Regions from separate parts of the Homo sapiens genome. Here all the other regions are linked to region 1. The links are contacts of gene promoters, found by promoter capture Hi-C in blood cells and fetal thymus (Javierre and others, 2016). All regions are on one chromosome and are shown on one strand. The core of a region is centred on a gene start or on the middle of the fragment in contact, and the rest is flanking DNA. Distances in the headings are between cores, read along the strand shown. Region 1 holds the start of WDR44 (WD repeat domain 44). Region 2 has its middle 7.1 kb from the start of UPF3B. Region 3 has its middle 9.6 kb from the start of SLC25A5-AS1. Region 4 overlaps SLC25A43 (solute carrier family 25 member 43).

What was found. The method cuts DNA at HindIII sites, captures the fragments that hold promoters and counts their contacts. A CHiCAGO score of 5 or more calls a contact.
Region 2: a fragment that was not itself captured here is called in contact with the fragment with the promoter of WDR44 in region 1 in 1 of 17 cell types (neutrophils); the score reaches 5.3 in neutrophils.
Region 3: a contact is called between a fragment that was not itself captured here and the fragment with the promoter of WDR44 in region 1, in 1 of 17 cell types (monocytes). The highest score is 9.3, in monocytes.
Region 4: a fragment that was not itself captured here is called in contact with the fragment with the promoter of WDR44 in region 1 in 1 of 17 cell types (monocytes); the score reaches 5.1 in monocytes.

What each region holds. Positions count from the first base shown.
Region 1 is chrX:118,342,143-118,348,447 of GRCh38, forward strand. It overlaps WDR44 (WD repeat domain 44), which reads left to right and starts at 3,964. Exons shown (of 20, transcript NM_019045.5): 1 at 3,964-4,438. The coding sequence starts at 4,362. RefSeq lists enhancers at 3,195-3,314, 3,505-3,554, 4,096-4,639, 6,135-6,305. The HindIII fragment of the contact is 5,332 bases long and covers 806-6,137 here.
Region 2 is chrX:119,856,884-119,863,188 of GRCh38, forward strand. No RefSeq gene overlaps it. Among named protein-coding and RNA genes, the nearest start is that of UPF3B, 7.1 kb to the left of the region's middle. The HindIII fragment of the contact is 185 bases long and covers 3,281-3,465 here.
Region 3 is chrX:119,475,577-119,481,881 of GRCh38, forward strand. No RefSeq gene overlaps it. Among named protein-coding and RNA genes, the nearest start is that of SLC25A5-AS1, 9.6 kb to the left of the region's middle. The HindIII fragment of the contact is 1,632 bases long and covers 1,491-3,122 here.
Region 4 is chrX:119,399,735-119,406,039 of GRCh38, forward strand. The region is part of intron 1 of SLC25A43 (solute carrier family 25 member 43); the gene reads left to right. Among named protein-coding and RNA genes, the nearest start is that of SLC25A43, 3.6 kb to the left of the region's middle. RefSeq lists a silencer at 1-125. The HindIII fragment of the contact is 2,315 bases long and covers 654-2,968 here.

The sequences.
Region 1 (6,305 bases), core at 2,714-5,213:
TTCTGAGTGACTGGTTACCCTTGGGGTTGCGGCAAAATTAGCCTCAAGGATGTTGCCAGTTTGTATTATTCTTGCCAAGAGGAGAGAATGAACATCCCACAGATAAGTTGTTCCATACAGTGGCTGTGACCTCTAGTCTTTGGAGAGTAGAGTATTTGCTATGCAGATAAGGAATTTAGTTAAGCATAAAAATTTTCCTTAAACCCACCTTACCCTTAGATGTATGAAATTTTAATAGTCATTGGGAATGAGCCAGGTAGGGAAGGTTTTATTCTTATTTTTATCTACACACATGATTTTGCAGCATCATATGATCTGCTGAAACCATTTAATTTGAGGGTATTTTTAGTTCTGAGGTACCCTAGAAAATAGTATCTTATGGACCAAGGATCTGAAAATTTTTCTGTAAAAACGGCCTGATAGTAAATATCTTAGGCTTAGGCTTTGTGGGTCACACAGTCTCTGTCCCAGCTACTCAACTCTGCCATGATAGCGGCCATGTGCAATATATAAACAAATAGTCCTGGCTATGTTCCAACAATATGTTATTTACAAAAACAGAGAGTGGGACAGATTTGTCCAGTGGACCATAATTTGCCAACCTCTGCTTTGGACCAATAGTTTTTCATTTGTTCTTTTTTTTTATCGGGCCTTAGGACAGTCTCCGGAGATTCAAGGAAGGTCAAACAGACAGGGACCTCAACTTTGAAACCCTGTTTCAAATAGAGCAGTTTTTATTTGTATACTATATCGACTTTTGCATAAAATTAAGTTTGATTAAGGTTCCATTTCTAATACAGAGAAAAGCTTCAAAACCACTGCCTTGGATGATACCTAAAATCTGCTGCTTTAAAACTCAAGAACTGATATTTCAGGCAAAATAAACACATCTTTTACATCTTTAAAAGTGATGATGGGGCCGGGCGCGGTGGCTCACGCCTGTAATCCCAGCACTTTGGGAGGCCGAGGCGGACGGATCAAGAGGTCAGGAGATCGAGACCATCCTGGCTAACACGGTGAAACCCCGTCTCTACTAAAAATACAAAAAAATTAGCCGGTCGTGGTGGCTAGCACCTGTAGTCCCAGTTACTCGGGAGGCTGAGGCAGGAGAATGGCGTGAACCCGGGAGGCGGAGCTTGCAGTGAGCAGAGATCGAGCCACTGCACTCCAGCCTGGGCGACAGAGCGAGACTCCATCTCAAAAAAAAAAAAAACAAAAAAAAGTGACGATGGGCAGTATTTATATGTGTTTTAACGTTTCCAGCAATTCATTCTAGCAATTGGCTTTCTCATGCAATTGATAAAAGCATTTAAACGGAAACTTTAAAAGCTCTAAAAATGTTACCAGTTTATCATTCCTATCCATTTTACCTTTTTCTAAGTATAATGTTTAAGGCAGCTTAAAAGGTCCAAGAGAGCTGATATGGTATATTGAAAAAAAACAGAGCACCAAACTAGGACTCCGTATTTGTCTCCACTGCTAGATTATTAGCTTTTTGTAGGCAGAAACTTAAGTTGTCTTTTTCTGTTTTGTTTTTGTTGTTGTTGTTGTTGTTGTTTTTGAGACAGAGTCTCCCTCTGTCGCCCAGGCTGGAATGCAGCGGCGGGATCTCAGCTCACTGCAACCTCCGCCTCCCAGGTTCAAGCAATTCTCCTACCTCAGCCTCCCGAGTAGCTGGGACAACAGGCAAGTGCCACCACGCCCCCCTAACTTTTGTATTTTTAGTAGAGACAGGATTTTGCCATGTTGGCCAGACTGGTCTCGAACTCCTGACCTCAAGTGATCTGCGCACCTCGGCCTTCCAAAGTGTTAGGATTACAGGTGTGAGCCACCGCGCCGGATCTAGTTGTCTTTTTAATCTGTCAATTGTCCTCAGCATCTAGAACGCTTCATGACACCAAATTGTATATGTTTACTGAACTGAGCGACTGGTTTCCACACACGGCATTTTGTTTTTGTTGTTGCTGTTGTTTTTTGTGTGTGTGTGTGAGAGACAGGGTGTGGCTCTGCTGCCCAGTCTGGAGTGTAGTGGTGCTATCTCAGCTCACTGTAGCCTCAACCTCCTGGGCTCAAGCGATTCTCCCACCTCAGCCTCCACAGTAGTTGAGACCATAGGCACATGCCACCACACCCAGTTAAATTTTGAATTTTTTGTAGAGACAGGGTTTCACCATGTTGCCCAGGCTGGTCTGAAACTCTTGAGCTCAAGAAATCCGCCTGCCTCGGCCTCCCAAAGTGCAGGGATTACGGGCGTGAGCCACCGCGCCTGGAACTAACACCTCTATCATATAGAGAAAACTAACTTTTTTTTCTTTGGAAGCCATAAATTCACTATTAGATATCTAGGAAGAGAATACATTCAGGTAGTTAACATCTTTCCATAAATATATATTTCCCTACCTTATATCTGGTATCTTTCCATAATCCAAAAAGAAAACAAAAAAACCTATCTTAGTGAGCAAAACGTTTTTAAAAGTTAGTACTTTGAGTTACATTTTTATACCTAGGAAGTTAATTAACATGTTTAAGACACATAAAACCTAATAATTTTTAGGTTTGACAAAAGTCATACCCTCACAAGGATCCACAAATCCCTTGTCTCCAATTCTGAAACTTCAAAAGCTCTGGAAACCAAGTTTCTGTTTTTTTTTTTTTTTAGTAATTTATTTGACAGTCAAATAGATCTATCTTAAACTTATTTGGCAGAAGCGTCTGACTCAAACTGAATGAGGCTATTTACTTGTATTTATTTATCCCGTATGAACAATCATATATCTTGCTGCAAAAATATTAATATATTTGATTACGCAGTGTTTTCCCTAAACTCCCTGGGGTATTATAGAATATACAGTATATGACATTTGGTTTTTACCCAAGTCCACTAGACCACAGCAGACCTTGCCCTGATTGCTTGACAAAGTCTAGAGCCCCTTTCCAGTTTCTCTGAGACCATACCCCTGGCTCCAATCCAGCCTTTTCTTGAATACTAATTGAGGCTGCACGAACAGCTCAAAATGCCTATCATGATGTCAGTTGGAGAAATAAATATGCTGTGTGATCATACTGAAAGTCAATGTTATCACCTTGATGGTCAATGACCCGTGGTTTAAGAAGGAACATCTCGGTTTTTTAAAAAGTACCTTTCTATTTTTATCACCGGACGCTGGGCAGTTGAGGATCAGAATTAAGCCATTAGCTCGTAGGCTTGCAATGATATCTGCTCAATAAATATTTACCATTTAGCTGACGCACATCTTGGGCAGTATGTAAGAACTTCTCTCACACTGTGTTGGCAGCGACAGACATGTGCGGAGAAAAAGTAACCGGAGGCCTAATACTGGCTCAGCTCCAGCAATAAATCCATCATTACACCATGGAACTGGCACACTCCCCGTGTATATCTCAAGGACCCCACCCTCTGGCCGGCAGGATCATATCTAGGGATCTCAATTAGAGATCTCGTAGTGAATAAGGGCGAGTTATTCTCGTAACGCCAGAGGTGGTGGACCTGCCGACGCCCTAGGGTGGGACATTCCGGGCTTGGATAGTAAGACATCGTAAATATACGCCAAAATGTCCACACCAACGTTTCCCGAGAGTATTTCTTTACAAGTAAAAGACCGACTCAAAATCACCCCTCTCAAAACGCGTCTCTTTGGAACTGCAGAGTTAGGGAGTAAGACTTTCTGCCTGACCCCACCTACGTCGGCCGCGCGCTCTCAGAGCCAGGGCACCACGCTGCTCCTGCGCAGGTCCTAGACTCCTCCCTTCGGGAGGCTCACCCCCTCCCTTCTCGGCTACTTCCGGCCCTCACCGAACGCCCTCAACGCGCTTGCGCCGTTTTGATAGGCTTCTCGGGCCGAAGTAATCGGAGCGCTGCCTCTCTGGAACCGCCCCCGCCACCTCTTCGCCCCGCCCACGTATTACCGCCCCTCCGAAATCTCGCGAGGGTAGGTGCGCGTCGGTATTTTGCGGGCAACTAGCTCTTCCAGCTGCTGTAAATTGCTGCTGCGGGAGAAACTGGAGCCGCTGTAGCCGGCGCGCCCTTCTTCCCTTACTGCGAGGAGCCACCGCCTCTTTCGCGCTCCTTATACACCTATCACTGGGAGCGGTGGCAGCAACATTCCCTGGACCAACCGCCGCCTCTTCAGGCGGCCGCTTTGCCGGTCATTCCCGAAGCCCGGCAACTGAGGGCGGCCCCCTTTCCTTAACAGTCTCCTCGCTACAGATCGTCTGCTCCCTCAGCCTCGCCCGAGACCCACTTCCCCAGTCTCGCCCGGGTGGAGGTCGACGAGGAGGAGACAAGAGTCACCCTTCCTCCAGGCGGCGCCGGCCCCCTCACCCGCGGGTGTGTCCTATAAATGGCGTCGGAAAGCGACACCGAGGAATTCTATGATGCCCCTGAAGATGTGCACCTAGGGGGCGGCTACCCCGTGGGGTAAGTGACTGCAGCTATGACAGGAAGCCGGGCATCCCAAGCCCCCCGCATCTCCTGTGTCTTCCCCCTACACCCCTCCCAGGTCCCGCTGTGTCCGCCACCGCTGTTCCTCCCCGTCTCACTGGAGGACTTCAGAACCCAGACCTGGGGCTTCTTAGGGCGGGGTGACTCGGAGAAGGGGGAGTCAGCCACCTCGGGCAGCCTCCCGGCCGTTTCCCTACTGAACGGTCCCAGGGTCGGTCTCGGAGCCCGTTTCTCTTCTGATCCAGCCTTCTGTGAGGGGGAACAGCTTACGTGCCTGAGTCGGAGATTTGTATCTGTGGGGTTCTGAGCTTACCTTTCAAACATCCGTTTTGGCCTCGGGGACCGTAGATTAAAGGAGCAGTAACAGGAGAAATGTAACTTGTAGTTTTTTATTCTCCCGTTTACCGCTAACTTACCTATTCACTTCAGAGGTGGCTGTAACTCTCCCCTATTTGCCGTCCTCTTTTTCTTGCACACAGCGAAAAGGAGCGGGGGGAAGGTTGGGTATTTGCTTAAGAAAGTCCTCTAGCGAATGTACTCTAGATCAACAGTGTTTTATTAAAATAACACCTTATCGTGAGGTAAAGGAAATCGAATACACGGTCCCTATTAGGCAGAATGCGGTCTAAAAGGATGGCCAGACAGAAGAAATGTGCACAACTGACTGCAGAGGGACAAACAAGTGCTGAGTAATCTGGTGATTGGAAGGAGAGCCCCAGCTTTGTGTTCTTTATCTAATTCTGCAAGATGTTTTAGTGGTGATTAATATGGGTGATTCTGAATAGGAAGTACAGTAGTTGGAATGCTCGCTTGACTAGGACTTGTATTTACTTACCCACTTCTCCACTTTTCAAAGTTGGGGTAGTGCTTTAAAGCGATTTCGCCGAACTCCCCTACGAATGTACGTGGAAATAGAGGCAGTGAAATATATTTTCATGCTGTAAGAACTTGAGGATTGGTAAAATGTAGATGTTAGTATAAAGGACTAATATGGTTCGAGAAGTTCACTGCCTTCAATTCTCACACTTACTCCGTGGGAGTAATAACCCGCTGTGATGCAAGTATAGTTAGCCATGCATGCTAGAAGTCATTCTAAAAACTAATGTATGTTTATACACAATATGCACCAAAAAGTTACAGTAATAAAATCAGAAAGCAATGTACGTTGGTAGATTTCAGATGTTTGTCTTTCCACCAACCTTCATGTCACTGTTGTGGGATTTTGGGGTGGCAGTGGCCAATCTTGAGATGACACCGAATCTCCTTCAAGTTCAATATCTGAGACAAGTTTAGAGCTAGGTGTAGAGCATAGGAAATACATTTGGGTTTTGAAATGTATTGGACTTCCGTGAAACTTAATTTTTGTGTGTGTGGTTTTCCCTTCAAAGTAATGAACTGACAATTCAGATTGAATGAGACACCAAGTCCTTTGGTACTTTTGTGTGTGTGTATTGGGGTGGGGGAGGGAAATCATCAGTTTATGAGCTGATCAGTTTAGAACTACTCTGTGGATATTGTTCTTTCCACTGAATAAGTTTAATTTCAAAGGACGCAAGTTATATCAGGACCTGTGTAAACTGTCTAGTCCAGTACCTGGGCACAGAGAAAGCATTCAAAATGTTCATGCTTTTCTCCTTCCTTTCTTGGCATTGGCAAATTTGTTAACTTTACACAAAGCTTATTTTGGGAGATATATAGAACTTGGACCTATTTTACTTATCTAAACCGGATGAGTCATTTTGATAGAATTGATAGAGTCACTTCTTCCCTCATGAGATAATACAGCTTCTCAAGCACTTTGATCCTCTGATATTAGGTGAAAACTGAAAAAGGTTTTTTTGGA
Region 2 (6,305 bases), core at 2,123-4,622, 1.5 Mb after region 1:
TTGTCCTCCATTGTAAAGTTTAACTTCCTCGTAGTTTCAGTAAACAACATTTTCCACCAGTTTTCATCAGTAGTTCACATCTGTTCCCCTGGTTACCTGCTCCGTCCTGACTCACCCCGGTCATCCGCTTTGACCTGAGTCACCCCTGGTCCCTGCTCTGACCTAAGTCACCTTTAGTTACCTGTTCCTAACCGTCCTTCCCACCAAACTATTCACCCCGCCACTCTGGCTCATACCCCTGGTCTCTTTAAAGTAGCCAATCAGAATTAGCTTAGACTGTGCAGTCCAACCCTAGCCAATAGGGGAGCGACACAGCAGTAGGGGCTACCTGTGTCAGGAATAAGAACCCCTTCCCCTCCCTTGTTCAGGTGTGCTCTTGCCATTACTCCATTCACGAGTCGCACCCTTCTATAGAAGTAAAAATTGTCTTGCTGTGAAAATTAAATTTATGTTCGAGTGCTATTTCTTTGTGGCACCGAGGAACAAGCATTTTGTTTCTAACATTGGCCAAGCTGGTCTTGAACTCCTGACCTCGTGATCCGCCCGCCTCGGCCTCCCAAAGTGCTGGGATTACAGGCTTGAGCCACCACGCCCAGCTTATTTATGTTATATGTAGCTGTGGATTATTCCTTTTCACTGTTACATAATATTCCATTGTATGAGTCTGCTGCAATTTATCCCACTCTTAGGGGCTAATACAAATAGTGCTGCTGGGATTTTAGTGCATATTGTTTGATGATTCATGTCAGATACATACCTAGGAGTGGAATTGCTGGATCACAGAGTAAGCATATGCTCAACTTTAGTAGGTACTACCATAGAGTTTTCCAACAGGGTTGTACCAATTTACACTTATCAGCAGTGTGTGAGAGTCCTGAGTGCTTCATACCCTTCCCAACATCTGGTATTGTCTCGTGGGTGTGTAGGGGTGCCTCATTGTAGTTTCACTTTGCATTTCTCTAATGATTAAGTTAAGCACCTTTTCATACATTTTTCACTGTGTGCCTTTCTATCCTTTTGGTTATTGCACCAGGTTATTATATTATTTATGCCAGAGCAAAAGAAACAAAACAAAACAGGGATGGTGATATGGCTCCTTTCCACCAAGTAAGGGGGAGAACAAGAATAAGTGTGTGCGTGTGTGTGACAGAGAGGGAGAAAGAGAGCTGTCCCTAAAGTTCCTCACACCACTGATTCTCACAGTTTCACTGTATGCTCCAAGGTTCCTCTTCCCACTTCTGATGATGAGCAGTATCATGTTTGGGACCCCATTTTAGAAAAGTAGAAGGAGGCTCTGCCTGTAATCCCAACACTTTGAGAGGCTGAAGTGGGAGGATTACTTGAGCCCAGGAGTTCAAAATCAGCCTGGGCAACATGGCAAAACCCGTCTCCACAAAAAATTAAAAAATTAGCCGAGTGTGGTGGCACACACCTGTGGTCTCAGCTACTCAGGAGGCTGAGGCGGGAGGATAGCTTGAGCCCGGGAGTTAAGGCTGCAGTGAGCTGTGATCGCGCCACTGCACTCCAACCTGGGTGACTGAACAATACCTTGTCTCAAAACAAACAAACAAACAAACAAAAACCCAGAAAGAAAATATCTATACACAAATGGAAGAATCTTACTTTAAAACATCTTCCCTGCCCTCCATTGAACAGGCTACTTTTAATAAATTGTCTTGCCCGTTTTTTATTAATTCCTTTCACAAATAAAACTCCTTGTGGAAATCTTGTGGAACTGCCTGGTGTTCAGCTCCATCTAGCTTAAAGGTGGTTTAATATCCAATTTTAAGATCAAGTTGACTTTTATTTAAATGTTATATTCAATGTTGTTTTTAATTAATTCTTGACCCAGATCAGCTCTGAAATTATCCAAATTCTAAACAGATAATTAGGAAAGGAGTTGGATAATTTGTACAGTACAAAAAATTATTTCACATGAGCGCCTGCTGATCCTAATATTACCTATGAAAGAAAGGGTAATATTTTATGAATTAGCCAAGTTAAAAATATGTATGAGAACGTTGGACTCCTTCCCAGTCAGTGCATAAAGGAGGCTTACATAGTATAATTATTTGAAGTACCTTCCCACAGTTTAAGGATTATAACGAAAGATGTTAACCAGCTATTCCTGATGTCTACTGATGACATAAAACAGGAGGAGGTGGCCGGGCGCAGTGGCTTGATAATCCCAGCACTTTAGGAGGCCGAGGTGGGCAGATCACTTGAGGTCAGGAGTTCGAGACCAGCCTGGCCAACATGGTGAAACCCCATCTCTACTAAAAATACAAAAATTAGCTGGAAGTGGTGGCGAGCACCTGTTATCCCAGCTACTTGGGAGGCTGAGGCAGGAGAATCACTTGAACCTGGGAGGCGGAGGTTGTGGTGAGCAAGATTGCACTACTGCACTCCAGCCTGGGCAACAGAGTGAGACTCTGTCTCAAAAAAAACAGGAGGAGCTAATGAACAATATAAGGAATTCAGTCACATGGGAAACAGAGATGAATTTCTCAATTAAGAAAAGTTTTTAGTTTAAAATTGGTAGCTGAGCCTTGGAGGAGTGACATTAGATTCTGAGGGAGAATACAAGTTGAGTATGCCTTATCTGAAATGCTTCAGGCCAGAAGTGTTTTGGATTTCAGAAGTGTTTCGAATTTTGGAATATTTGCATATATGTAATGAGATAACTTGGGGATAGGACCCGAGTCTCAACATGAAATTCATTTATGTTTCATATGCCCCTTGTACACAGAGCCTGAAGGTAATTTTAATTTTTTCCTTGGAGACACTGAATAAACTGTGTGTCGTGTGCCTGTGTTTTGTCTGTGGCCTGTCCCACGAGGTCAGGTGTGGAATTTTCCACTTGTGATATCATGTCAGTGCTCAAAAAGTTTCAGATTTTGGGGCATTTCAGATTTTGGATGCTCAAACTGTACCACACATGTAAACTTTATTTATTTATTTATTTATTTTTGAGATGGAGTCTCGCTCTGTTGCCCAAGCTGGAGTGCAGTGGCATAATCTCGGCTCACTGCAGCCTCCACCTCCCAGGTTCAAGCTATTCTCCTGCCTCAGCCTCCCAAGTAGCTGGGATTACAGGCGCCAGGCATGGGACTAATTTTTGTATTTTTAGTAGAGACGGGATTTCACCATGTTGGCCAGGCTGTTCTCAAACTCCTAAGCTCAAGTGATTCTCCCGCTTCGGCCTCCCAAAGTGCTGGGATTACAGCCATGAGCCACCGCACCCAGCCGCACTCATGTAAACTTGTAAGTAAATCCAGTAAGCTTTAAAAATCCTGAAGTTGTGTAATTTTCTCAGGGGAATAATTTTACAGGTATAAGCGTAGAAAATTATCAGTTCTATTTCTATAATGTAGACTTAGAAAGATCCTGTGTACTGAGAGTGAGATGAAATTTGGACAAAAGGAGACTTATGGACTTTCACAACAACAAAACAATCATGATCAAAGCTTATTTTTGCCCTGTGCTGGGCACTTTGTGTGCGTTGACTTGGTTAGTCCTCACACCAGCCCTATGAATTGGGTACTGTTGTTTTCCCTATTTTGCAATGAGTGAAATTAAGACACGTGGTCACTCAAACCCAAAATTACATGGCTAGAAAGTAATACAGCTGATTCATAAATCTAAATTACATCTCCAAGGCTGGTAGTTAAAAAAACAAAACAAAACAAAACGAAAACCCTAAATCCTGTGAGTTTGTGTAGGGGCTATTAAAAAAAACTAGAAAAAATTATAGAGTTATCTTAAAAATACTGGTAAATTCTCAGATGTAAAAGTAATGTTAATAAAATTAATAAAATGTTTGTTACATTACAAAAATATGAAGAGATTATTTATGTCAAATGTTAAATGCAGTAACACATTATATGGATATGAAAGTAAGGAGGCCGGGCGTGGTGGCTCACGCCTGTAATCCCAGCACTTTGGGAGGCCGAGGCAGGTGGATCACCAGGTTAGGAGTTCAGGACCAGCCTGGCCAACAGAGTGAAACACCATCTCTACTAAAAATACAAAAATTAGCCAGGTGTGGTGGCACGCACCTGTAATCCCAGCTACTTGGGAGGCTGAGGCAGGAGAATTGCTTAAACCTAGGAGGCGGAGGTTGCAGTGAACCAAGACCATGCCATTGCACTCCAGCCTGGGCAACAGATTTGAGACTCCATCTCAAAAAAAAAAAAAAAAAAGGCTGGGCACGGTGGCTCACACCTGTAATCCCAGCACTTTGGGAGGCCGAGGTGGGCGGATCACAAGGTCAGGAGATTGAGACCATCCTGGCTAATACGGTGAAACCCGGTCTCTACTAAAAATACACAAAAAATTAGCTGGGCATGGTGGCGCACGCCTGTAGTCCCAGCTACTCGGGAGGTTGAGGCAGGAGAATCACTTGAACCTGGGAGGTGGAGGTTGCAGTAAGCTGAGATCGCACCACTGCACTCCAGCCTAGGCAACAGAGCAAGACTCTGTCTAAAAAAAAAAATAGCCAGGCGTGGTGGTACACGCCTGTAATCCCAGCTACTTGGGAGGCTGAGACAGAAGAATTGCTTGAACCCGGGAGGCATAGGTTGCAGTGAGCCGAGATCTTGCCATTGCACTTCAGCCTGGGTGACAGAGTGAGACTTCGTCTCAAAAAAAAAAAAAAAAAAAAAAAAAAAAAAAACAAAAGAAACGAATTAGATTAAAGAAAGCTCTGATATATAGAGCTCTTAAATCCCTCAGAATTTCCTGGATCATAGTAGCATCTTTTGTTTTAATGAGGTGACTCTTGGTGGGATCCTGGATAGCCTCAGGATGGGGGCTGGTTGCCAGGGGAACCAATCATGTAATTAGAGGGTTGGAACTTTCAACCCCACATCACCCCACAAACCTAGACCTCTGGGGAGGGGAGAAGGGCTGAAGGTTGAGTTGATCACCAATGGCCAGTGATGTAATCAATCATGCCTATGTAATGGAGCCTCCATAGAAGTCCCAAAGGACTGAGTTCTGAGAGCTTCTGGCTAGCTGGACATGAGTTACCTTGAGGGTGGTTCTGAGAGAGAGAGCATGGAAGCTCTGGGCCCCTTCTCACATGCCTTGCCCTACACAGCTTTTCTATCTGACTATTTGTCTATATGCTTCGTAATATCCTTTATAATAAATGAGTAAATTTAAGTAAAGTGTTTCCCTGAATTCTGTGAGCTACTCTAGCAAATTAATGGAACCTGAGGAGAGGGTAGTAGAAACCCCTGATTTATAGCTGGTGGGTCAGAAGTATAGATGACAACCTACTACTTACTATTGGCATTTGAGGTGGGGGGCAGTCTCATAGGACTGAGCCCCAAATCTCTGTATAGGATCTATGGGATCTGATGCTATCTCCAGGTAGGCAATGTTGGAATTGAATTGATTTAGAGGAGATCCAGCTGATGTCAGCTGGAGAATTGCTTGGTTGGTGTATGTGTGTATTTCCCCACACATTTTGGTGACCACAGGTGGAGTGTTCTGTGTTTCCTTGAGTGTGAGAGTAGGAAAAACACTTTGTTTTGTTTTCCTATCTTTAAAACATCCAAAAATCAATTACTGTAATAGACCATATCAGTAGAATAAAAAGCAAAAACCACATAATCATCTCAAAAGATGCAGAAAAAATATTTGCCCCAAATCCAACTCCTTTTCATGATAACAACACTCAACAAACTAGGAATACAGGGGAACTTTTCTCAACTCAGAAAAGAGCATCTACAAAAAACTCGCAGCTAATAACATACTTAGTGGTGATAGACTGGATGTTTTCCTCCTAAGATCAGGAACAAGAGAAGAATGTCTAATCTCACCACCTCTATTCAACATTGTCCTGGAAGCTCCATCAATGGCAACTGGGCAAGACAATGAAATAAAATGTATTCAGATTGTAAAGGAAGAACTAAAACTTTATTGGCAGATGACATAGTCTTGGTTCATGTACATAGAATATCGTGGTCATGTATATAGAAAATCCTAAGGAATCCACTAAAAAACAACCTGCTAGGACCAATAAATGAGTTCAGCATGGTTCCAGTATATAAGATCAATATTGGAAAACAATAAATTTTATTTCTATATGCTGTTGATGAATAATCTAAAAATGAAATTAAGAAAATTATTCTATTTGCAATAGCATCAAGAACAAAATATTAGGAATAAATTTAACAAAGGAAGTGCAATACTTATTCTCTAAATACTATAAAACATTGTCAAAAGAAGTAAAAGATTTAGCTGGGTGCAGTGGCTCATGCCTGTAATCCCAGCACTTTGGGAGGCTGAGGTGGGCG
Region 3 (6,305 bases), core at 1,057-3,556, 1.1 Mb after region 1:
TTTTTTTTTTTTTTTTTTTTTTTTTTTTTTTTTGCGGGGGTTGGGGGGTTAGTTTTGGTTGCTGAGTGACCTGGAGACAAGTCACTTCTAACATCAGGGTCTTAGTTTCTTATCCTTGAATGGAGAAATTTGGGGAAGAGACAAACTCTAAAGTCCCTTCTAGTTTAGACGTCCTCCAGCTCCATCATTTTTGCAGAAAGCAGAACCAGTGAAAGGACCAGGATTAGGTGATTTAATCCTTTCAGAGAACATTTTAAAATATCTAACACAATCGTAAATGAATAGTCTCTGACTCAGAGCAGTCATTTACAGACTGTGTGGGTGGTTTGCCATTGGCAAGTAAAATTACGAATGTAAAGATTTACATTAATTTCAGGACCAAGAAGCTGAGCAACAAATTACAGCTCGGTGTTTGGGTCAGAGGTGCTCTGATTTACCTCAAAATAATTAACATCTGTCTTCTCAAAGCCTCATCTTATTATGTGTAATGTGCACTTCCGTATGCAGGTTGAGATTTATTTGAACAACAAATATTAGGCGCTGCAATTTCGGACACAAAAATGCCTTGTGTTCCACTCCAAATGTTTGGAGGAGCTTTCCTATCATTTCAGCCATTATTTGCTTTATGTGCAGGTGAACAAGGTCAGATGCATGGTGCTCTTCTTAGCCAAAGGCTTAAGAGAGCCTTTGGTATCCCGGCAACAAATATAAACAGTATTCAAGCGACAGATTGGGCAGTTGCTTTCACTAGACCCTCATCAGAGACAAAACTGAGTTAAATTAAAGGAGTCTATTAATCCTTGGCTTTTCCGTGACTATCAGGGAAGGGGACAGAGAAACGAGGGGGTTATTTTTATGGCGAGCATCCATCCTGGGATTTCATTTCCTTGGGCAACTTTCGTAACATGGGGAGGCAATTTAGCACTGTTGAGATTTTAGAGAACATGCCGAATCTGATCACATGACATGTTACACTGTCTCTAATGTTTTCAGTCCCAGAATAGAGATGGTTATGGTTGCAAGGACATAACCAGAATAAAGTATCAGTTAAATAGCTGTTGACTGGTAACTTCCGAGGGCCTCGTGTTTGGGAATGAAAAGGAAAACTCTTCTGTCTAAATGAACTCCAATACCCAGTTTGGCAAGAAGCAGAGATATCTTATGGGCAGAGGCAAAGGCAGATGTACTGTGGAGCTAGGGGTGCTTCCCCTTTGGAGCCACCCCTTGCATGGGCCCCTCCCAAGCCCTAACCATATATTCATTTGGTCATATGGTTTGGCAACATTTTCAAAAGACATATTTTGTGTTTTTAAAAAGAGGGAGCCAAATCATATAAGCTGACACTTCCACAAAACTCAGATCCATTCCTGCCCGTGGAACTGGAGTGGATGAAGGAATTTGGAGGCAGCCCTGTACATCAGGGAGAGGTCTGGGGCTTCCTCACCACCTGACCTTCCTCGGAGCACACCGCTCAGGACTCACTCATGAGAAGCTTTGAGGCTAGAGGTCTCATTTTCAAATACCAAACTTTCTTACTTGACAACAATTCAACTTTTACTTAACTGTTTTGTGCCTTAGTTTCCCCATGTGGAATATGGGGATAACTTTAGTACCTACCTCATAGGAATAGTGTGAAGATTAAAGGAGTTAATATATGTAAAGTGCTTAGAACAATGCTGGGCACCTGCTTTACACAATTTTGCTCTTATTATGACTGTTATTGCTTTGTTTTTGTTTTTGAGATAGAGTCTTGCTCTGTCACCCAGGCTGGAGTTCAGTGGTGCGAACTTGGCTCACTGCAACCTCCACCCCCCAGGTTCAAGCGATTCTCCTGCCTTAGTCTCCCGAGTAGCTGGGACAAGAGGTGCAAGCCACCACACCTGGCTAATTTTTGTATTTTTAGTAGAGATGGGGTTTCACCATGTTGGCCAGGTTGGTCTCGAACTCCTGGCCTCAAGTGATCCAACCGCCTCAGCCTCCCAAAGTGCTGGGATTACAGGCAGGAGCCACTGCATCTGGCCCGACTGTTATTGTTTTATTGAAATGCTTTAAATTATTTTCACTTCATTCATGGGAGAATGGTTTAATGGATTTATCCTTTTCCTGCAGATTTTCTAAAACAGTCTCAAGAAAATGCTATATATACTATAGAAAGTGGATCACACACACACACACAGAGAGAGAGAGAGAAGGTTGTAAAGAAAGAAAAGGACATTTTTGGAATGGACTGAATGAATAGAAACATGTGCTTATGGTGATAATCCTGAGCTCTAACTCAGAGCACTTATTTTACAACACTGATTATGAAAGAGACCAAAGGTCAAAGATAAATCCGTCCTGCCTCACAACCAGACTGCACTGCTCACCTGACCCAGGGGCCACTGTGTGGTCACCAGGATTCTTCTCACAGCTTCCTTTGCTCTCGTAGTATTTCAAGGAACCCATGAGGTCCCAGCCTGATTACCCAACCCTATGACTTCACTCCCTAGGGAAAGAAGCTGCAGGGAGGAGAAAATTTACTGAGACCTTTAGAAGCAAAGGATCTCCTTTCACTTTCACAACTAAGTCCAGGGTTCAGGAGTCCATTTATTACAAAAATTGAGCTTCATAATGGCTTTATCCCAGAAGTGAAGATCAGGGGGTAAGGACGCTTGGGCTTCTGGGTAAAAGCGTGCTGTTTGCCAATTAGGGTAGAAAGCTAGGAGTTTGACCACTGAAATTGTAATCCCACTTCGGCTCCATGTTTCTTTGTCTTGGGTCATATCACATCCCGTCACTAGTTAGTGGCTCAGTTTGTCTACCAGGAAACCTGGAAATCAACTTTCCTTTTTAAGCTACAATATAATTCCTCAAATCTACTGTGGGCTGTGGTTCTTTTTGGAGTTTCTAGGGCTAGATAGATTGAATTAAGTTAAGCCTGCGTCTTCAGGTTAAACAATCGATACAACCAGGTAACAGTAATTTCTCTAAAACTACAGAATCAAGATCATAGCTCATTATTTTGACATCTTATATGCCAGATGTTGTGCTAAGCACTTTACATGGATTAACTGTCCCTATTGTCTCAACAGCCCTAAGAGGCAGGTATTATTATTCACTCCATTTCACAGCTATGAAACCGAAGCTTAGAGAGATGAGATAATGTCCTCTGAGCTATCTGACTCGGCAAAAGGTTTCAAAGAGAACTTCAAGGTGACCCTGTCCAACTATTTATTTTGGGTCATGAACTATATTAAAATATGAAAGCCGGCTAGTTTCAATACCAACTGACAAAATCCATTTGACAAATATTAAATAGAAATTATAATAACCTCAGTTGGATAAAAAAAGAGATAACAAAAGAAAAAATAAATTATAATAACCAAAGCACTGTTTGTAAAGTCCATTTTTAGAGTATGGGTTATTTTCTATTTTCAGCCAATTTAAGAATTATGGTCATTAAAAACTACTTGACCCTAAAGCTCTAGAGTTAAATTTGAATTTATTCACATTTCTTTGGCTTTTCCAAGACAGATCTTCCTTTTAAATGACGGCTCTTCACAAGGAATACTGAGCCTCTCTCTAAGGTTACAAGCCTGAGGCTGGGGTCATTAGGACTTTGCGTAAGGCCCATACCAACTAACAACCACAGGAGGAGTTGGTGTTGGCCGCACCCTTACCTCTAACCAGGGTTGGCTCTCAGAAAAATGCAGTGAGGCTGGGCACAGTGGCTCACGCCTGTAATCCCAGCACTTTGGGAAGCCTAGGCGGGCAGATCACCTGAGGTCAGGAGTTCGAGACCAGCCTGGCCAACGTGGTGAAACCCCGTCTTTGCTAAAAATACAAAAATTAGCTGAGTGTGGTAGCGGGCACCCGTAATCCCAGCTACTCAGGAGGCTGAGGCAGGAGAATCGCTTGAACCCGGGAGGCGGAGGCTGCAGTGAGCTGAGATCGCACCATTGCACTTCAGCCTGGGTGACAGAGTGAAACTCAGTCTCAAAAAAACTTTGGGAGGCCGAGGCAGGCAGATCACGAGGTCAGGAGATCGAGACCATCCTGGCTAACGTGGTGAAACCCCATCTCTACTAAAAATACAAAAAATTAGCCGGGCATGGTGGCAGGTGCCTGTAGTCCCAGTTACTTGGGAGGCTGAGGCAGGAGAATGGCGTGAACCCAGGAGGCGGAGCTTGCAGCGAGCTAAGATTGCGCCACTGCACTCCAGCCTGGGCGACAGAGCGAGACTCCGTCTCGAGAAAAAAAAAGAACAAAAGAAAAAGAAAAATGCAATGAGTTGGGCTTTGGGCTATTTTATCTGATTGCACCTTATATTGAGAGACAGTACTGTGCGCCTCATGTTCTGTTCCTCCTCCTGCACGTGATCTGCAGTTCCACTTGCCATTTCCTACCTATGTCATTCACTTTCATATTTCCAAGCTTGGCTGTACTATTGTTTTTCCCAGCATGCCCTTACCTGCCCCTCTGCCAGGGCATGATCCTTCAAGACCCAGCTCAGATTGCACCACCTCTGGGAGCCTTCCCAGACTCCACCTGCCCATACTCATTGCTCTCTCCTCTGTACTTCTAAAGTAATCTATCTCTGTCAGCTTCACAAAGGCAGATATTTTGTCTGTTTCATTCATGTGTCCCCAGTGTCTAGAACAGTGCCTGGCACATAGTAGATGTTCAAGAAATAGTTGTTAAGTGAATGAATTATAATGTTTATTTCATGGTATCACAACCAAGTATTTATTTGTCTGTCCTCATTAAGGGCTATGTCTCGTTTCTCTTTACATTCCTAAAACTGAGCATAGAACCTAACACATAGTGAATGTGTGGTAAATGTTTGCTGAAGGAGGAGATAAATGAGAAAATGGGCCAAGTGCAGTGGCTCACACCTGTCATCCCACCACTTTGGGAGGCCGAGGCGGGTGGGTCATTTGAGGTCAGGAGTTTGAGACTAGCTTGGCCAACATGGTGAAACACCGTAACTACTAAAAATACAAAAAATTAGCTGGGTGTGGTGGCACATGCCTGTAGTCCCAGCTACTCAGGAGGCTGAGGCCGGAGAATCGCTTGAGCCCGGGAGGTGGAAGTTGCAGTGAGCTGAGATCGCACCACTGCACTCCAGCCAGGGCGACAGAGACTCTATCTCTAAATAAATAAATAAATAAATAAATAAATAAATAAATAAATAAATAAAATAGCCAGGCACAGTGGCTCATGCCTATAATCCCAGCACTTTGGGAGGCCGAGGCAGTCGAATCACTTGAGATTGGGAGTTTGAGACCAGCCTGGCCAACATAGTGAAACCCAATCTCTACTAAAAATACAAAAATTAGCTAGGTGTGGTGGCGGGCACTGTAGTCCCAGCTACTCGGGAGGCTGAGGCAGGAGAATGGCTTGAACCCGGGAGGTGTAGGTTGCAGTGAGCCGAGATCGAGCCATTGCACTCCAGCCTGGGTGACAGAGAGAGACCCTGTCTCAAAAATAAATAAATAAATATCTGTATAACGAAATAAATAGAGAATGAATGAATGGCATGTTGTAGGGTTTGTGCATTGGTTATTGATTGGCATGAATGAATTTTGGCTCGATCCAGCCACTTGATACCTGGGAACAATTCTGTAGCAATAAATGTACAGGGCCTTTCTTTTTCATTTTCTTACATAATAATTCAGCAAATGTCCGGGGCCTTTTGACTTGCAGCTATTGTTTTTCCAGACCCTGGGCTTACAGGGAAGATCTGGATATTGCAGGGGTTGGGAAATCAACTGGTTCCTGTACTGCTGCTATGTTGTCCATGCTAGAGAACCAGAGAGGCGGGACCTTGGCACACACCCCTCCCCTCCTGAAATCTGTGTGAAAAACAGCTGACTCCACATCCAGGGCTTCTACCATACTGTGTTCATGGGATGCTGGCCTGTGCCACACATGTGCTGGCCATCTTGTCATGAGCCCCTAACACAGAGCCCTCCACATAGTAATTGCCTGATGGATGTCTGGTTGTGATGATGACAATATTGAACAGTGGCTGTCACACAACATGACTCAGGCCACTCCAAGGGGAGAGGAACAGACATGTTCCTGGGGCACCTGAGGACGCTGCCGATAGAGCTGTGCCAACTGCACGCCCATGTGACTGATTAGGGCTGATTAGGCCAGACCTGCTCCCAGACCTGGGCCTAATGTTCCCAGCTTCTAAGACTATTTCAGCCACTAAAAGCCCATGAGAACCCTTGAGTGAATGTGGCCCTTTTTGACGTGCTCAGGAAGCAGGCAGAGTTTGTTCTCTCTCACTTGTGAGTGGGAGGCCTCCAGGAGTGCAG
Region 4 (6,305 bases), core at 561-3,060, 1.1 Mb after region 1:
GCCGCGGCCCGACGCCGCCCTGCTGCCTGGACTCGGGGCCCTGGAGTAGGGACGGCCCCCTTGTCGATCACCTGGGGACCCCTCGGGGCGGTGGGCCACCTCTATGGCCCCCAGAGTGCAGCCCCAATGCTTTTCACGTTCTCTTGGGGTTACCGCCCTGCAAGATGCAGTTTTGTGGTCCGCAGCCCTGGTCCGAGAGGCTTTCCGGATTGGACCGGGCGAGGAGGTGGAATGCAGCAAAGGATTTGGAGGAAAGGAATGAAAAGCTCTCCAGAGAGATGAGTCCTAACCATTTCCACCGTCCTCCAATTTGGAAACTTTTGCTTAGGCTGGCTTAGGAAGAGAGAGACCCTTTTAAAGGTGTTTTTGTCTGTGTGACCCAAGCCCCGAGAAGAAAGTGCTTGGTGTGGGGAAAGGACCCGATCCATCGATACGAAAAGGCCGCAGATTTTTGCCCACACATCTCCCCAACTTAAATGAAGCTTGACTTCAGGCTCCGACAGAGGCTGCAGCTTCCCCTCCCCAAGCTGAGAACGGCCCCCTCAGCCTACCGCTTCACCCCACTGGCCTCATTTATTTGGGCCTTTTCCACCTTCTCCCACATCAACAGCTGCTCCTTAGGAAAAGATCTAAAGGTGTAAATGCAGCCTTAAAGCTTCCACCGAGCTCAGAGGTACCTGCATTTGAACTGGAAACCAAGCCTGAAAGAATGAATTGGTAGTGATGGCATTTCAGGAAGCAGAGATGTTTCTGTATTGGGGGGACGGTCCCTGTGTTCCTCATTCAGTGGGCACAGTGGCATCTTTGATATCGCCTTGGCTCTGAATTAGACAAACAGCCCACATTTGGGAGAGTCGGTCTTGACCGCATAGTTTAGTCTTGGCGGCTAATAGTCAAAGGATTTTGCCTTGACACTGTCACTCACCTGGGAGGCCAGAGGTGGAAGGCTCACCTGGCAGCCGACAAGCCGAACGGAATCATCCTTATTACCTAGGCCTCTAGGCCAGTACTCATTTTGCCTCTGCCTGGAAATAGAGTTCCCTTCTCTTCCTCTGCAGAGGGACTCATGGGTGGGACCATGACATTTAGTTAAGGCCCTTTTTCCTCCCCACCTCTGCTTGCCCTCATCAACATCTGGCCTGCAGTCTGTAAACAGTTCTCCTCTGAGTCTTAATGACTCAGTTTCTCCCCCACTTCACCCTCTTCTCTACAAAGTAGTGTGGAAATCTTCCTTTGGATGGGATAAAATATGTCCAGAGGGGTGGGGGGCAGAACTTCAAAGGCTGGTTTAAGTATTGTGGCTCTTCTGCTAAGCACCTAGTATATGCACATTAGATTTTTTAAGCTCCTGCCTCCTGCCCTGTAAGGTCCATAGGACAGGAAGCATTGTGCCTGTTTTACAGATGCAGAATTGGGCTCAGAGTGATGACACCTCTTGTCAGTGACCGAGCTGAGCTCCACTACCTGGCCTTCTGACTCCAAATCTCATAGTCTTTCTGTTACATCATGCTGCCTCCCTGCATCCATTTGACACTAATTTAGTCAGGCTACATTAAGTCCCCACTGTGTGCACGATGCTGAGGACAATGCCAGGATGGAAGGGGCATGGTCCCTGTGCCCCAGGAGCTTACAGAGTAATAGAAGAGTAAGACTAATATGTCCATGACCATAACACACAAGGTAGCATGTGATTGTCATGGATAATGTGCTCTAGAAATGTACCCTTCTGATGAGCGATGAGGAGGAGAAAATGTGAAGACTTCATAGAGGAGAAAAAAATTTGAGTTTGGCATTGGGAGAATGAGGAGTCTGCTGGGCAGAGATGGAGAGAAAGATACTGCAGTTGATGTCAGCAAATGCACAGAGGTGGGAAGGCAAGCAGCACAACAGGAAGTCCAACCAGAAAAGCAGGTTGGAATGAGATATTAGAGGGTTGGATTAAGGGATTTGGACTTGACTTGGTATCCAAGGGTAGCTGTGGGAGGTTTTTGTGGGGGGTGGGGGGAGGTGTGTTGTGATTAAAGCAATTCAATGGAAATGATCGTCACATCGTGGCAGAGTAAGATGACTAGAGAGGAGGAAGAGTGGAGACAGCAGGGCCAGTTAGGAACCTGTTGCACTAGTCCACATAGCAGCTGAGGGCACCGGCAATAGGTGACCATGGGAGCAGAGAGGAGGAGATGTCTGGGAGAACGAGAACAGAGACTTACCTGGGCTAGGTTTGCTAGGAATTTTTTTTCCCCTACAGGATTATTTTCTTTCTGAAAACTAAAAGGAAGTATTTTGGTGAATGGCAAGGCATAGTTGGAAAGCAAAGTGTTTGATTAATCGCGATGCCATCCTTCCTACATCAACATGATACTCTTGATTCATCATTATACTGATTCATTTCTACTCTTTTCTGACCATGAATTTGCAAAACAGTTGGCTGGGGGCCTGTGATCATGGGTTTGAACAAAACATAAACATCCAGAATGTTCAGGGAATGGGGTAGTTAAGTGACTTGTCCACAAATGCAATTAATGGAAGAGCTGGAACTTGAAGCCAAGTCTTCTGGCTCCTTAGTTCAGGTCTCTGTCTACCATTGCACAGCAGAAATATCTGCTTAGTTGGATTGACGATCAAGAGTCCACTCAGTAGTCTGTTGGGAGCTAGGTTATTGTAATGGGTGGCTTTCAGATGTATCAAATAGAAGACCCCCCCGCCCTGGAACTTCACAACCGCTTGTCTATCTTATCTAATAAACGTTAGTTTGGGTCCCTGCAGCTCTGAAATTGTTCATAACCAACACTATTTCTTTATTGAATAAGCACTTCATGAGCTTATGTTTGGCTGCACTGGCTGCCAACCTGTTAGGTTGAAGTATTGGCAGTTATAATTACACATATCCAGGGTGTGTGTTGTATCTGTGCTGGCTGAAAGGAAGGGGTTGCTGCAATTCACCAGTGTATCCAGTCTCACTGGAAAAAGCTTCTGTGCATGTATGTGTGGGGGTGGGAGGAAGAACAGAAAAGGGAACAGTGCCGCCCTAGCAAATCAAAAGTTTAAGATGCATGGACTGAGATGACATCATTGGCGGATTATCAGGGTTGCCTGCCCTGACTCTGAGATTCTAAGGGGAACAATTGATAGGACTTATCTCTGTATCAGATGGGAGAAGTCTGCGAAAAAAGGACTTCCTATGGTTCTTCTTTTTAATTGTGTATATTTGATATTGAGACTCTATAAAAGAAACTGATATAAAATACGGCTCCTCTTCCTAGTTCATCAAGTCATTCAGTGAATTAAGGGCCTGTTTCCTCTCCGCTTGCCCCTACCAGTCATTTCCTTGTCAGAAGTGTTGAACTCCCTTAGGCTCTATGCTGAGGACTAACACAGGGTCTGATACATTGTAGACCTTCAATAAATGAGTAGTGAATTAACTATGCCCTAGAAGTGACCAAGTGGGATGGGGAATAAGAGTGGGACAAGGAGAATGAATGGTATTTCTTTGGGCATTTCAAACTCCACCTTCTAGGTGGTTCCAGCTTGCTGCAGACCGCCCCTCCAGTCAAAAATTTCTTTTTTTTTTTTTGGAAGAAGTATTGCTCTGTCGCCCAAGTTGGAGTGCAGTGACGCAATCTCGGCTCACTGCAACCTCCACCTCCCGGGTTCAAGCGATTCTCCTGCCTCAGCCTTCCGAGTAGCTGGGATTACAGGTGCACGCCACCATGCCTGGCTAATTTTTGTATTTTCAGTAGAGACGGGGTTTCACTATGTTGACCAGGCTGGTCTCGAATTCCTGACCTCGTGATCCACCTGCCTTGGCCTTCCAAAGTGCTGGGATTACAGGCGTGAGCCACCACGCCCAGCCCCAGTCAAAAATTTCTACTTCCTCTGTTTCCCCTGTCCTTTCTGAGGTCCCCCTCCAACTTGACTGGCCAGGGTATAGAAGAGGGAGGAACGAGGAAGTGGGCAGGCAGGCAGTACAACTGAGGCAGATAGTCTGTTGGTGAATGCCACCTGTTTGAGAAAAACCTCTGTCAAACTTGGTTTTTCCTCTGCTCTCACACCACAACAACAACCCTCAACACAGAAGACTTCTGTGACCAAATGAGTGTGGGGAACCCCACACTCTGATAAATGGACACCAACTAGGTGTCCTCTGATTCAGTTCTGACACTGTCTACCTGGACATAATGTCAGACCAAGCCACAGGTTAAGGGCTTGGTCCCCAAGAATGGCCCCCAACCAGACACTAGTCACAAGTCCAGGCCTCCAGAACTTTTTTTTTTTTTTTTTTAAGACTGAGTCTCGCTCTGTGACCCGGGCTGGAGTGCAGTGCGTGATCTCGGCTCACTGCAACCTCTGCTTCCCGGATTCAAACTATTCTGCTGCCTCAGCCTCCTGAGTAACTGGGATTACAGGCGCCCGCCACCATGCCCAGCTAATTTTTGTAATTTTTTTACTAAAGAGAAGGTTTTGCCATGTTGGCCAGGCTGGTCTCGAACTCCTGACCTCAAGTGATCTGCCTGCCTCGGCCTCCCAAAGTGCTGGGATTACAGGCATGAGACGCCATGCCTAGCCAGGCCTCCAGAACTTCTGACCAACCAGCTTCAAGTTGGGGTTCCCACGACCCCCTCTTTGGGTTCGATTAATTTGCTAGTGCGGCTCACAGAACTCAGGGAAATAGTTAATGTTTACCAGTTAACTACAGAGGATACCACAAAGGATACAGAGAAGAGATGGGCAGGGTGAGGTAAGGGGCAGGGGGTGTGGAGCTTCCATGCCCTCCCTGGGCACGCCACCCTTCAGGAACCTCCACATGTTCAGCCATCCAGAAGGTTCCCAAACCCTGTCCTCTCGGGTTTTTATGGAAGATTTGTTACAGAGGCATGATTGACAACCATGTAGAAATGTGACTGGATGAAAAGCACATGATCTAAACCCAGCAAGGCCTGTCTGTTCAGACTTTTCTTGGCCTCTATGCAGCGTTCCTTTCTCTAGGGCAGAGGTGTCCAATCTTTTGGTTTCCCTGGGTCACACTGGAAGAAGAATTGTCGGGCCACACATAAAATACAATAACACTAACGATAGCTGATGAGCTAAAAAAAAAAAAATTGCAAAAAAATCTCATAATGTTTTAAGAAAGTTTGCAAATTGGTGTTGGGCCACATTCAAAGCCATCCCGGGCCACATGCGGCCTGTGGGCTGTGGGTTGGACAAGTTTGCTCTAGGGTATGGGGCAGGACCCTCTCTGGGATGAGGATCTTTTAACCCACAATCAGATTAGAGTCCTACCTTGGGCAGGTAAAAGGAGGGCAGGAGAAGGTCAAAGAGAGAAAGATTCTGTTTCCTGAGACCTAAAGTGCCCCAACATTATAACAAGGACTAGGGAAGTTAGGAGCCAGGAACCATGGGTGAAAACCAATGTATGTATCATAGCACCACATCACCTTTACTTCCCTGTATGTTTAAAAGCAGCTGATTAACTCAAATGACTGTTTCAGTTAATGCGGCTAAGGTAGGTTGACAAAATGAAGTCAAGACTCCTACAGCTTGAAGATGTTTTTAATCAGTGAGTGTTTACTTGAAAGCAAAAGAGCTAGCCTAGAACCCCTTAAATGCTTTCACCTGAATGCCCACTCTTATTTCTCATGCAGCAGCCCCTGGCCTATGGGCAACTGAAAGAACAGGAAATGCACCTCCTCACTGGAGGTTTGAAGGCTAAGGAACTGGGGATGCTCTCATTTTAAAAAGATAGGCCGGGCACAGTGGCTCACACCTGTAATCCCGGCACTTTGAGAGGCTGAGGCGGGCAGATCACTTGAGCCCAGGAGTTTGAGACCAGGCTAGCCAACATGGCGAAACCCTATCTCTACAAAAAAAAAAAAAAAAAAAAAAAAAATAGCCAGGCATGGTGGCGCACATCTGTAGTTTCAGCTACTCAGGAGGCTGAGGTGGGAGGATCTCTTGAGCCTGGGAGGTGGATGTTGCAGTGAGCCCAGATCATGCCACTGTACTTCTGCGTGGGCGATAGAGTGGCCACCGCACCCGGCCCAGAACTGGGCACTTTGGGAGGCCGAGCGGGGTGGATCACCTGAGGTCAGGAGTTCGAGACCAGTCTGGCCAACATGGTGAAACTCCGTCTCTACTAAAACTACAAAAATTAGCTGGGCATGGTGGCGTGCGCCTGTTGTCCCGGCTACTTGTGAGGCTGAGGCATGAGAATTGCTTGAACCTGGGGAACGGAAGTTGAAGTGAGCCGAGATCGTGCCACTGCACTCCAGCCTGGCCAACAAAGTGAGACTCTGCCTCAAAAAAAA